Regions from separate parts of the Homo sapiens genome. Here region 2 is linked to region 1. The links are contacts of gene promoters, found by promoter capture Hi-C in human tissues and cell types (Jung and others, 2019). All regions are on one chromosome and are shown on one strand. The core of a region is centred on a gene start or on the middle of the fragment in contact, and the rest is flanking DNA. Distances in the headings are between cores, read along the strand shown. Region 1 holds the start of SLC24A5 (solute carrier family 24 member 5). Region 2 overlaps SLC12A1 (solute carrier family 12 member 1).

What was found. The method cuts DNA at HindIII sites, captures the fragments that hold promoters and counts their contacts. A contact is called where the count stands out against the background at its distance.
Region 2: a fragment that was not itself captured here is called in contact with the fragment with the promoter of SLC24A5 in region 1 in 2 of the 25 tissues and cell types used here (spleen and thymus).

What each region holds. Positions count from the first base shown.
Region 1 is chr15:48,118,214-48,123,483 of GRCh38, forward strand. SLC24A5 (solute carrier family 24 member 5) reads left to right here and starts at 2,777. Exons shown (of 9, transcript NM_205850.3): 1 at 2,777-2,952; 2 at 3,644-3,823. The coding sequence starts at 2,832. The HindIII fragment of the contact is 7,987 bases long and covers 1,849-5,270 here.
Region 2 is chr15:48,302,239-48,307,508 of GRCh38, forward strand. SLC12A1 (solute carrier family 12 member 1) reads left to right here. Exons shown (of 27, transcript NM_000338.3): 27 at 512-1,840. The coding sequence ends at 647. Among named protein-coding and RNA genes, the nearest start is that of DUT, 27 kb to the right of the region's middle. The HindIII fragment of the contact is 4,732 bases long and covers 627-5,270 here.

The sequences.
Region 1 (5,270 bases), core at 1,527-4,026:
AGAAGAGAAAAAAAAGGTAGGACTATAGACTAAAAGAAAGTTAAAAGATACCTTTTTAAGGCAAAATTAAGTTATAGCATCATAAAGATGCACTGGATTACATCACGGACTATTAAAACTACACACATGAGGAAATGATTACAAGTCAGGAGAGTGGTTACTTTCAGAGAAAGGGAGGAGAGGAGACTGAGGCTCACAAAGGGGCTTCTAGGGGGGCTGGCAAACTTATTTATTTACTTATTTTTATTATACTTTAAGTTCTAGGGTACATGTGCACAACACGCAGGTTTGTTACATATGTATACATGTGCCATGTTGGTGTGCTGCACCCATTAACTCGTCATTTACATTAGGTATATCTCCTAATGCTATCCCTCCCCCCTCCCCCCACCCCACAACAGTCCCCAGTGTGTGATGTTCCCCTTCCTGTGTCCATGTGTTCTCATTGTTCAGTTCCCACCTATGAGGGAGAACATGCGGTGTTTGGTTTTTTGTCCTTGCGATAGTTTGCTGAGAATGATGGTTTCCAGCTTCATCCATGTCTCTACAAAGGACATGAACTCATCCTTTTTTATGGCTGCATAGTATTCCATGGTGTATATGTGGGTGGCTGGCAAATTTCTATTTCTTGACCTTGGATGTTTACAAGGGTGTTCATCTTATGAAAATAATAATAATATAGTAAACTATTCATGTATGTAGTTTTATCTGGGTGTTATTTTACAAGAAAAAGATCTTTAAGATGCTTTTGCAAAATGAAGAATGTGTGTGAAGCAAATCTAATTCATCTCCTAAAATCTCTTTTCGTGGTAAATCCATATTTAGATGGTAATTTGTTTAGACCAAGCATATGCATGTTCTGGCAATGTGTTTTCAAGACCATTCATTGCAAAGTAATCGATCTGCAAATGTTGATGGAGTACTAACTATGTGCAAGGCACTTCTGCTGTTCCATAGCAATTGGCTCGTACCTTCAGACACTTGCTCTCTCTCTTGAATTAGCTGACAATGTGCATTGGAAGCTTTCACTTTGGGTTTGAGCTTTTTATATTATTGGTATTTTATTTGTTTATGATGTTTTATGAATTGATTGAAGTACTGTGTGTTGAAGAGGAGAGGCTCGCAAGACACTTCCACTCAGCATAAAACTAAACGACCTCTTCCCTTAGTCTTAGCTAGCTGGCATGTAGGCCACTCCCCAGTGATCAGGGTGCTGCTTCCTGCGAGTGTAGACAGCTGGAACTCTGCTTGTTGAGAATCTGCTCTATACTGGGCTATGCTTTGGTGACTCATCATCACAGCCTCACAATCACACCATACATCTGAATATCTAGTTCCTAGAAATGACAGTTTTGGAGAGGTTTATAATGGATACCAATTCCCACAAAAAAAAGTAGTTTTTGAGACTTTCTTCCGACCCAAGATCACAAACATCAGGAAGCAACTTACTCCGTTCCATCAGATAAAGCTAGTTTCTAAATAGAAAACTTACTAGGCATATCAATTTTTGTGTTTTTTCTGCAAAGCAAAGGAACCATGAAAGTTGCAAAACTACAAAAATTTTTATGAACAAAAACGCTTCTATTTCAATTGAAAGAAAGAAAGAGAAAGAAAAAGAAAGAAAGAAAGAAAGAAAGAAAGAAAGAAAGAAAGAAAAAGAAAAGAAAAGAAAGGAAGAAAGAAAGAAGGAACGAAGGAAAGGAAGGAAGGAGGGAAGGAAGGAAGGAGAGAAAGAGGAGGAGGAGAAGAAAGGAAGGAAGGAAGGAAGGAAGGAAGGGAGGAAGGAAGGAAAACAAACAAAACAAAGAAAAAGAAAGGAAGGAATGAAGACGTCAGCCAGAGGTCGTTCTGAGCAAATTATTTGCGTTCATTTTTGTAATTCTTACCACAACCCAAATACAGGTGATCCCTGTTTTACAGATAGCAGAACTGTGTAGCAGAAAGGTTAAATAACATGCCAAAAGTCACATAACTAGTAAGTAGCAGTGCTAGGGCTCAAATCATGTGGTCTGGTTCCATAGCCTGTGCTATTAGCTATAGGTTACTACACTGCCAAAAGTTCTAAATATCTTGGCAAGCCTCATAAATGTTAGCATAGGGAAGATAGTAGTCTATATTTAAACACTACCTTGTACGTCAAATTTGCATTTTAGATAGCTCCCTCTGGCAGAAAGCACAGCCTATCAATGATCAAATAGCATCCACTCCATCTCAATAATTCTTGAAACTGTCAGCTACTCTCCATCCCCGTTGCCACAGCCTTGGTTCAAGCCACTATCATTTCTCAGCTAGACGATTGCAATGATGCCCTAACTGGCCTTTCTCCCTTTGGCCCTAACTGAAGATGAAGATGAGAGGCTAAAACAGAAATATGAAAGGATGCCGAGCTAGCCAAAGCATGTACATATATTAATATCAACCCAAACAACTTCTAGGGGAAAGGGCTGGAGAGAGATGGGAAGCAGTTGCAAACCCAACTTTTTACAAATCTAGAGAAAGTCAAAAGCAGAGCCAGTATGAAGACATTAAATAAAACCACACATTTTCATAAAGTACAAGCTGCCTTAATCTGCCCTTAGAGACTGTAGGCCATGGAAATAGCTATAGACAATGGTTGTCAGCTCTCCTCCGTCTCCTCCGGCCTCCCTGGAGATTGGGTCTCCTGATCAGAGAAGCTTGACTGGCTACACTCGCCCTTTCTCCTGTGCTGGCCTTGCTGAGATGTGCCCTGGGCAGGGTATTGGGCAGGAAGGAGACTCCTCACATGATCCAGTTTAATCCTCCTCTTCTCCCTTCCTGAAGCTGCACGCTGCAGTAAGAGCACAGCAGAAATGCAGACAAAAGGGGGCCAAACATGGGCGAGAAGGGCTCTGTTGCTCGGCATCCTGTGGGCCACTGCACATCTGCCTCTCTCAGGGACCTCCCTGCCCCAACGTCTCCCAAGGGCCACAGGTAGGTGGACATTGGGGTCAGTTAGCTCTGCAGCAGCAGCTGCTGCTGCTGCTACCACATACAGATGAAGGGACAAAAAGAGGAAAATTCTCAATGGGCTCACTTTTACTTACGCTTCTGAATTTTAGCATTTAAAAAGATATCAAACACTTTTGATCCTTCAAATAAGTTCTTAAATATACTCCAAAGTAATTCACAGAGATCATAGTAGGCCAAGTCTCCAGTTTTTGTTCTTGGAGACTTTTTGGTGAAAACAAAAAATCTTTCATCTTAGAAATTCTCTCTGCAACAGTGGATGGATTCTTTGCAGGCCTGTGAACAATTTAGGCTCTGCAATGAGAAAACGAAATTGTATAAACAATAGAAATCTTCATGTATCAGAGATACAGTTTCTACTTGGGGAAGAGAGATTCAGAAATAAAAACAAGGAGGAGTGATTTCATGATTTCCTCTTTTTAATTCTTCACCATCATCAACATATTTCATTAAGATATCTCTTTTCAGTCCCCCAAAAAAATTTTTTGAAAACTCTACAACTGTGTTATATTCAGAAGCGCTTTATACATTTTCAGTGGGTCCTTAAAATTCCACCCGGTTACCCCACACTTACAGATTTCTTAAGGAAGCTCTCTGTGGGCTTGGAATGTGTGACTCCAAACTCTTCAAACTTTCACCTCCTTTTCCTTAACAGGAAATAGCACCCAATGTGTTATTTCTCCATCATCGGAGTTTCCCGAAGGGTTTTTCACGAGACAGGAGCGCAGAGATGGAGGCATCATAATCTATTTCCTAATTATCGTTTACATGTTCATGGCCATATCTATTGTCTGTGATGAATACTTCCTACCCTCCCTGGAAATCATCAGTGAATGTAAGTGGCTGGAAAGTTGCCCTGTAACCTTCTGGGAGAGTGTGCCACACAGATATGACTGTCTTTGAAATAGCTCAGCAGCTGTCCTGTACTTCTCAACTGGTTGCAGAGCACCAGCTTCTTGTTGTGGGGTCCCGTGTCTTAAGGAACTGGTCGAGTGTGGTTTCTCTTGGTAGTTAATGTGAATCAGAGTTTCTTCAAGTTAGAACCCGGCAGTTATTATTTTTCTGCCTATTTCCAGAAATCTCTAGTTTGTCTACTGCCTGGATGTTTGTTATAAGAACTGTTCCAAGATTTCACTTGTATGTACTTTGTGTGCGCTCCTAATACAATGAAACTCCTAATATTTGCCATTTTATGCTTCAAAAAACTTTTTTTTATTTTTACTCTAAGCTCGCTATAACTTTGATTATAAAAAGTGATAAACAAATGCAATTAAGGACCACCCTCCCCATCTTCCTTTCCCAGCATCCTACCATTAAGGAAATTAATTGATATTTAAGAACCAATAAACAGATAGATGAATAAGTCCTGTATCCTAAGTGACCTTAGACATCAGATGACTGTAAAATCAGTTATTAAAAATTAAGAGCTCCATTTATTGGTTTCTGAAAATAAGATCAGCCGGTCCAAGCCTCTGAGCTCTGTTCCTTCAGCAGTATATGTTGCCCAGAATTCTGAGCATAGACCTTCACTGGTGCACTGGTCCCTAAACACCAGGATAGCAGTTATGTTCTGTGCCATATGAGCAAAAGTGTGTTTCTAGACTTGGTCTCATGTTTGGTTATTTATTTGGCTGAGCATGCCCACATTACAGCAAAAAGCAATGTCAAAATTAAGGATTGGGTTTCCTATTGCATATTCACAAGACTGCACAGTAACAGCAGCGTCCTCAACCTCCACCCACCGCCCCCGACACACACACATTGCTGCCATTTCTTTATAAAGGGAAAGAGCATGAATGTAAACTCTCCCTTTTCCCATCACCCCACCCCCAACCCCTGCTGAAATGCAAAGCGAATTATTTCCTCCCTTGTTCACTGCAGTATACCAGAATCTGTAGGCTCTAAAACAGTAACTGGTGATAGCAGAGGCACTCAACACCTATCTGTTTAATGAAAATATATAATATATATATATATGATAGATTAGCCTAATTTATTACAATTTTTCTTAAGTAGATACAAACATATGCTTTTATCTTGACGTTACATCTTATATATAATTGATATTTTCTTTAATAAAGATTAAATTATTTAACAGTTTTACTTAGATTAATGAAATACAAGAAAAATAGAAGAGAAAGATAAAATCACCTGTATTTCCATCTACACAGTTACCATTTGGTATATTTCCTTTAAATCTTTTGAATCTTGCTTTATATACAGTTTGGGATCTTTCCTTTTTTTCACACAATATTTTATAGTGCACATTTTCCAATATTATT
Region 2 (5,270 bases), core at 1,743-4,242, 180 kb after region 1:
TTTATAGATAGTATTACCTGAAAAATACATCAGTTTGCTATCTACAGTAAAAATAATTTTGGTGCTTTCATCTTGGGGTGGCGTAAAAATTAAGGCTGCCGGCCGGGCGCGGTGGCTCACGCCTGCAATCCCAGCACTTTGGGAGGCCGAGGCGGGTGGATCATGAGGTCAGGAGATCGAGACCATCCTGGCTAACAAGGTGAAACCCCGTCTCTACTAAAAATACAAAAAATTAGCCGGGCGCGGTGGCGGGCGCCTGTAGTCCCAGCTACTCGGGAGGCTGAGGCAGGAGAATGGCGTGAACCCGGGAAGCGGAGCTTGCAGTGAGCCGAGATTGTGCCACTGCAGTCCGCAGTCCGGCCTGGGCGACAGAGCGAGACTCCGTCTCAAAAAAAAAAAAAAAAAAAAAAAATTAAGGCTGCCAGTTATTAAATAGCTCAGAAATACTAGTGCCGTTACTACCTATAGTAATTTTCACTTTCATTTTTAAATTTTTCCTTCATGTCATTAGGAGCCTTCCCGTGGCAAGAAAGGGATCCATATCGGATTTGTTGTATATGGCTTGGTTGGAAATCCTCACAAAGAACCTCCCACCTGTCTTACTAGTTAGAGGAAATCACAAAAATGTCTTGACATTTTACTCTTAAAACATGAAAGATTGGAATACATTTTAACTTAATGTAATGCATAATTAAGAAACATGTTCCAGTACTTTATGTTGTAAATCTGATCTATGGATATGCAAACCTCTGGAGAGGATCCTACCAGATTCTACATACATTGCATAATTTTTATCAGTTAATGCGAGCTTTTTTTTCTCTTCTCAGCTTAAGGGGTTGTCAAAGCCAATGTTATCCCTAGAAAAACATTTTTGTCACTGCTGTTGATAAACAAGAAAATCAAGGAAACTCATGTTGGCTTATGCTCATGAAAACCACCAATGTGATTGTAAACTTCTCCAGACAAACTTAACCTTTTGTTTCTTAATTTTTTGTTTTGAGTGTTTGCTTCTCAGCCCTGGTATAGGTCTCAGCCCCACAGCAGGATCTCAATAAATGCTTATTGACAGGCTGGCATAGTAACCACAGGTGGTTATCAAAGGAAAAGACCAATAGGCTGGGGAACATAATTATGCTTGGCCCCCTCAGAGGCTTATACCTCCAAAGCAGATTTAAAAATCAGTAACTCAAAACTTTAAGAAGTAGTTGAGTCTACAAAATATTCAAAGCAGTTACCTAAATAAGGTTATTTAATGTAACAGATTATATACTTAAAGTGATCTGAGCAATCATTGATAACATATGGCTTAAATTTGCTGCTGCCTGAAAAGTATATTAACTAGATTAGAAGACACCATATACTCCAATAAAATGAAATATATTCTATTCTCAATATATAAACTTTAATTGTACTCCCTATCAAATATTTTGAAATTTCCATCACGGCATTACTTTGCATATTTTTTTCTAATTAAATGGTTAGTACAGATGAAATCTTTATAGATGACTACTTGAAAACTAAGTGCTACAAATTTTCAAACCATTATTAAGAAATATATCCTGAATCATATATTTAGTTACTTTCTATAGTGATTGTATGGATTTAAAAGAATAATTAAAATGTGAAGTTGAAAAACTTGTAAAATTTGGAATATACAGATACTGATTTTTTTCATTTTTGTTAGTATACCTATAATACATAATCACATTGACAAACCAATGAAAATATTGATTTTCTGATGAATGGCTTGATTTTTCTCCTTGACATGTTTTGACTGTTCATTCTAACTGAAAACATATATGGGAAAATATGAACCTGAAATAAAAGCACTCAAATTCAATTGCTTTGGCCTAGGTCATGTTTTTACTTTCAGTCACTAAAATTGTGGTGCAATGGTGTATCAGATGTGAGCCTGAAGATTTCAGTCAGTGGCCTCATCTGCAGCTGCTTAAAGCTAGGATTCAAGATCAGGACTTCCTAACCCAGCCTCTCTGCTCAGAAGGATGACCAGAGAATAAGGGAGACCATCAGCAAAGCTTAGGCAGCTGGATATTCCTATTCCAAATCCAGGGCCACTGTGCTTAACTCTGCCCTTGATAAAACCCTTTCTCTTGAGCACTATGGACCTGAAATCCAAATGCCTAAACTCAGCTTCATGTGGGCCTGACACTTCTCTGAAATACTTGAGGGTCTCTGGGAAAGGTGAGAAGTAATATGACTTCTTTAACAGGACATTCTGGCTCTTGTTTCTTTCCCGGCTGCTGCAAGTTGGGCTCCTTGGGAAACAGACTCTGAGACAAAGTTTAGCATGATCCCCTGGGGATCAACACCTGAGGGAAGGAGGGGAAGAAACAGCAAACATAGAGGTAAGCAGTGAGCTGGGATGCAGGCCCAACGACAGCCTCTGCTGACCCTACAGAGAGTCATCCCAAGCAGGGCAGAAAGGGCCAGGCTTTTGTACTCTGCTTTTATCAGTTATTGCATGGGGGCTGCCTGGGAAGAGGTGTGACCTCTGGGGCAGGGGGGTGCATGGGGCAGCTCTGTGCAGCAGAGGCAATCCCCCAAGGGCCTGGCAGGGAAAGTCTATGTGCTGACAGCACTCCTAGCTGTTAGGGCAACAAGCTCTTCATTAAACAAGGTCTGGGTAGTACCGAAGGGACCATATAAAGTAGTAGAAACCGAGTTACTGAATTTCCAGAGGGCTAGTAGCAAGAAGATGGCTGAGTATAGCCCTTGGATTCCAGGTTAAGGGTTGGGTGGCTCTAAGGTACTAGAGATCTTGAGGTCAAGAGCAACTGTATTGGGAATAAATTCGGAGGGCAGAAAGTTAAAAGGATAGGGGCTACAGTCACATAGCAGCAGATTTATCCAGCCCTTGGTGCCCTGCTGTTGTCCTTTTCTTCACCCAACTCTATTGATCCAGCCACCCATCATGTCCATGTCTACACTCAGGTTTCTGAGCAAGAAGGAGAACATTCCACAGTCATGTGCATTGGTGTCCAACTGTCTCTGTCTCCTCACTTTGTGCATGTTTCTCAACAGCGTCCCCACCCTTTCCTCACCATGACTTCACCATCACTTTTTCAGTTGCTGTCTCTGCTCCCATCCCCACAAATATAGACATATTCATAGACATAAAATTTCTTTCATAGATAGTGCCATACTGGGAGCATTGTCCTATGAGTTTTTTACTTAACACTCAATTTTAGAAATATTTCAATGGAAGCTTTATTTATTATAATTATTATTATTATTTAGAGACAAAGTCTGGCTCTCTCACCCAGGATGGAGTGTAGTGGTGCAATTATAGCTCGCCATAATCTCAAACTCCTGGGCTCAAACAATTCTCTCACCTCTACTTCCTGAATAGCTAGGACTACATTCATACGCCACCACACCTGGCTAACCTTTTAAAATTTTTTTGTAGAGACAGGAGCTCACTATATTGCCCAAGCTGCTCTTGAACTCCTGGCCTCAAGCAATCCTCCCGCCTTGGCCTTCCAAAGTGCTGGGATTGCAAGCATGAGTCACCATACCAGGCCATTGATGGAAACTTTAAAAAGAGAGTATAAATTCTTGGGGACCACCATAACCCTGGTAAATTAGAATCTCTGGGAGTGGGACTGAGGGACCTGTATGTTCTGATGATCTGCAAGATTTTGGAACTAGTGCTTTGAGGGCAGTCCCTCCCATTTCCATGATTTGATTTCCACTACATGTTGGTGTCTCCTGAATTTACATTTTTAACTCAGATCTCTTCTAAGTCTCAGATCCATATATTTAAACACTAATTGTCTTGATGTTTCTCTCTAGGTGTCCTACCCTAAATGCAGATTGACCAGACTTTTGTAAAACACACACACATACACTGGAGGAATGGCATCTAATTCTCTTTCTCTCTCTCTTTTTTTTTTGACATGGAGTCTCACTTTGTCACCCAGGCTGGAGTGCCATGGCACAATCTCGGGTCCCTGAAACCTCCACCTCCCAGGTTCAAGCAATTCTCATGCCTCAGCCTCCTGAGTAGCTGTGATTAGAGGCACCTGGCTAATTTTTGTATTTTTAGTAGAGAGGGGGTTTGCCATGTTGGCCAGGCTGGTCTCGAACGCCTGACCTCAGGTGATCTGCTCGCCTTGGCCTCCCAAAGCGCTAGGATTACAAGTGTGAGCCACTGCGCCCAGCCTATCTAATTATCTTTCTCAATGCGTATCAGGTCTCCCCTGAAACAGCCGAGATCACGCCACTGCACTCCAGCCTGGGCAACAGAGTGAAACTTCGTCTCAAAAAAAAAAAATAAAATTTTTAAAAAACAGAAGAAAATCTGCATCACAGCAGAAAACTAAGAAAGGATGCCATTCACATGGTAATTTATTTAGAAATAAAATCATGCTATAGTTTACATGGGTGGAGACTGATGGAAGCAATCAAAGATCAGCTTACAATCAATGCTCCTGGGGAAAAAAAAATCTTAGGGAATAATTGCAGGAGACCCTGGGAGAATTCCAATAATCCTTCCCCGCAATTTGAAGCTGGAAGTGAGAATAGGCAGTAGGACAGGGTGGAGCACCTTCCTTAGGACCCATTGTGTTGGATACTGCAAGTATTCAGAACAGCTTCCCTGAGAGGTTGCATGGTATGCTTGGTGGGCATTGCTATGCAGCATCTCATGGATGCCTTTGGCAGAGGCATCAGAAAAGAAAACAACAACATTGTGTGTAAATCCCAATACATAAAGAGCATAAAAACATTAAAAATAATCCAAAAGAGAAGAGTAAAAAAATATTACTTAAAAAAGAGAGAAATTATACAATAATAGAATCCTACAATAGAAGAAAAATCAAACATGCAAGAAACAAATAGAAAACACAAATGTGTTCATCTTTCTTATTAACAAAATGACTCTCAAATTTAATGAAAAAATCAAACTCTATTCTATCTGCAAGCATTATATTCAGAATTAAATATAAAAAGGCTAAAAGTCCACAAGTGGAAGTGAAAAAAAAAGGCTAAAAGCAAAAGAATAAACAAAAATATACACAAACATTTAAGCAAAAGGAATAGAGTTGACAATATTAACTTCAAAGTTTAAGACTAAAAGAATTAGGAATGACAGGAGAGTATCATTTTATATTTATAAAATAGATATAGCCACAATGTAGCTATAATAATAATGCAGCATTCTGTAAACAAATAGCATAGTATTGACATAAATAATACAAAAAATTGTTGGAAACAAAAGGACAGTCCCAGAAAGCCAATTTTTGATTTTT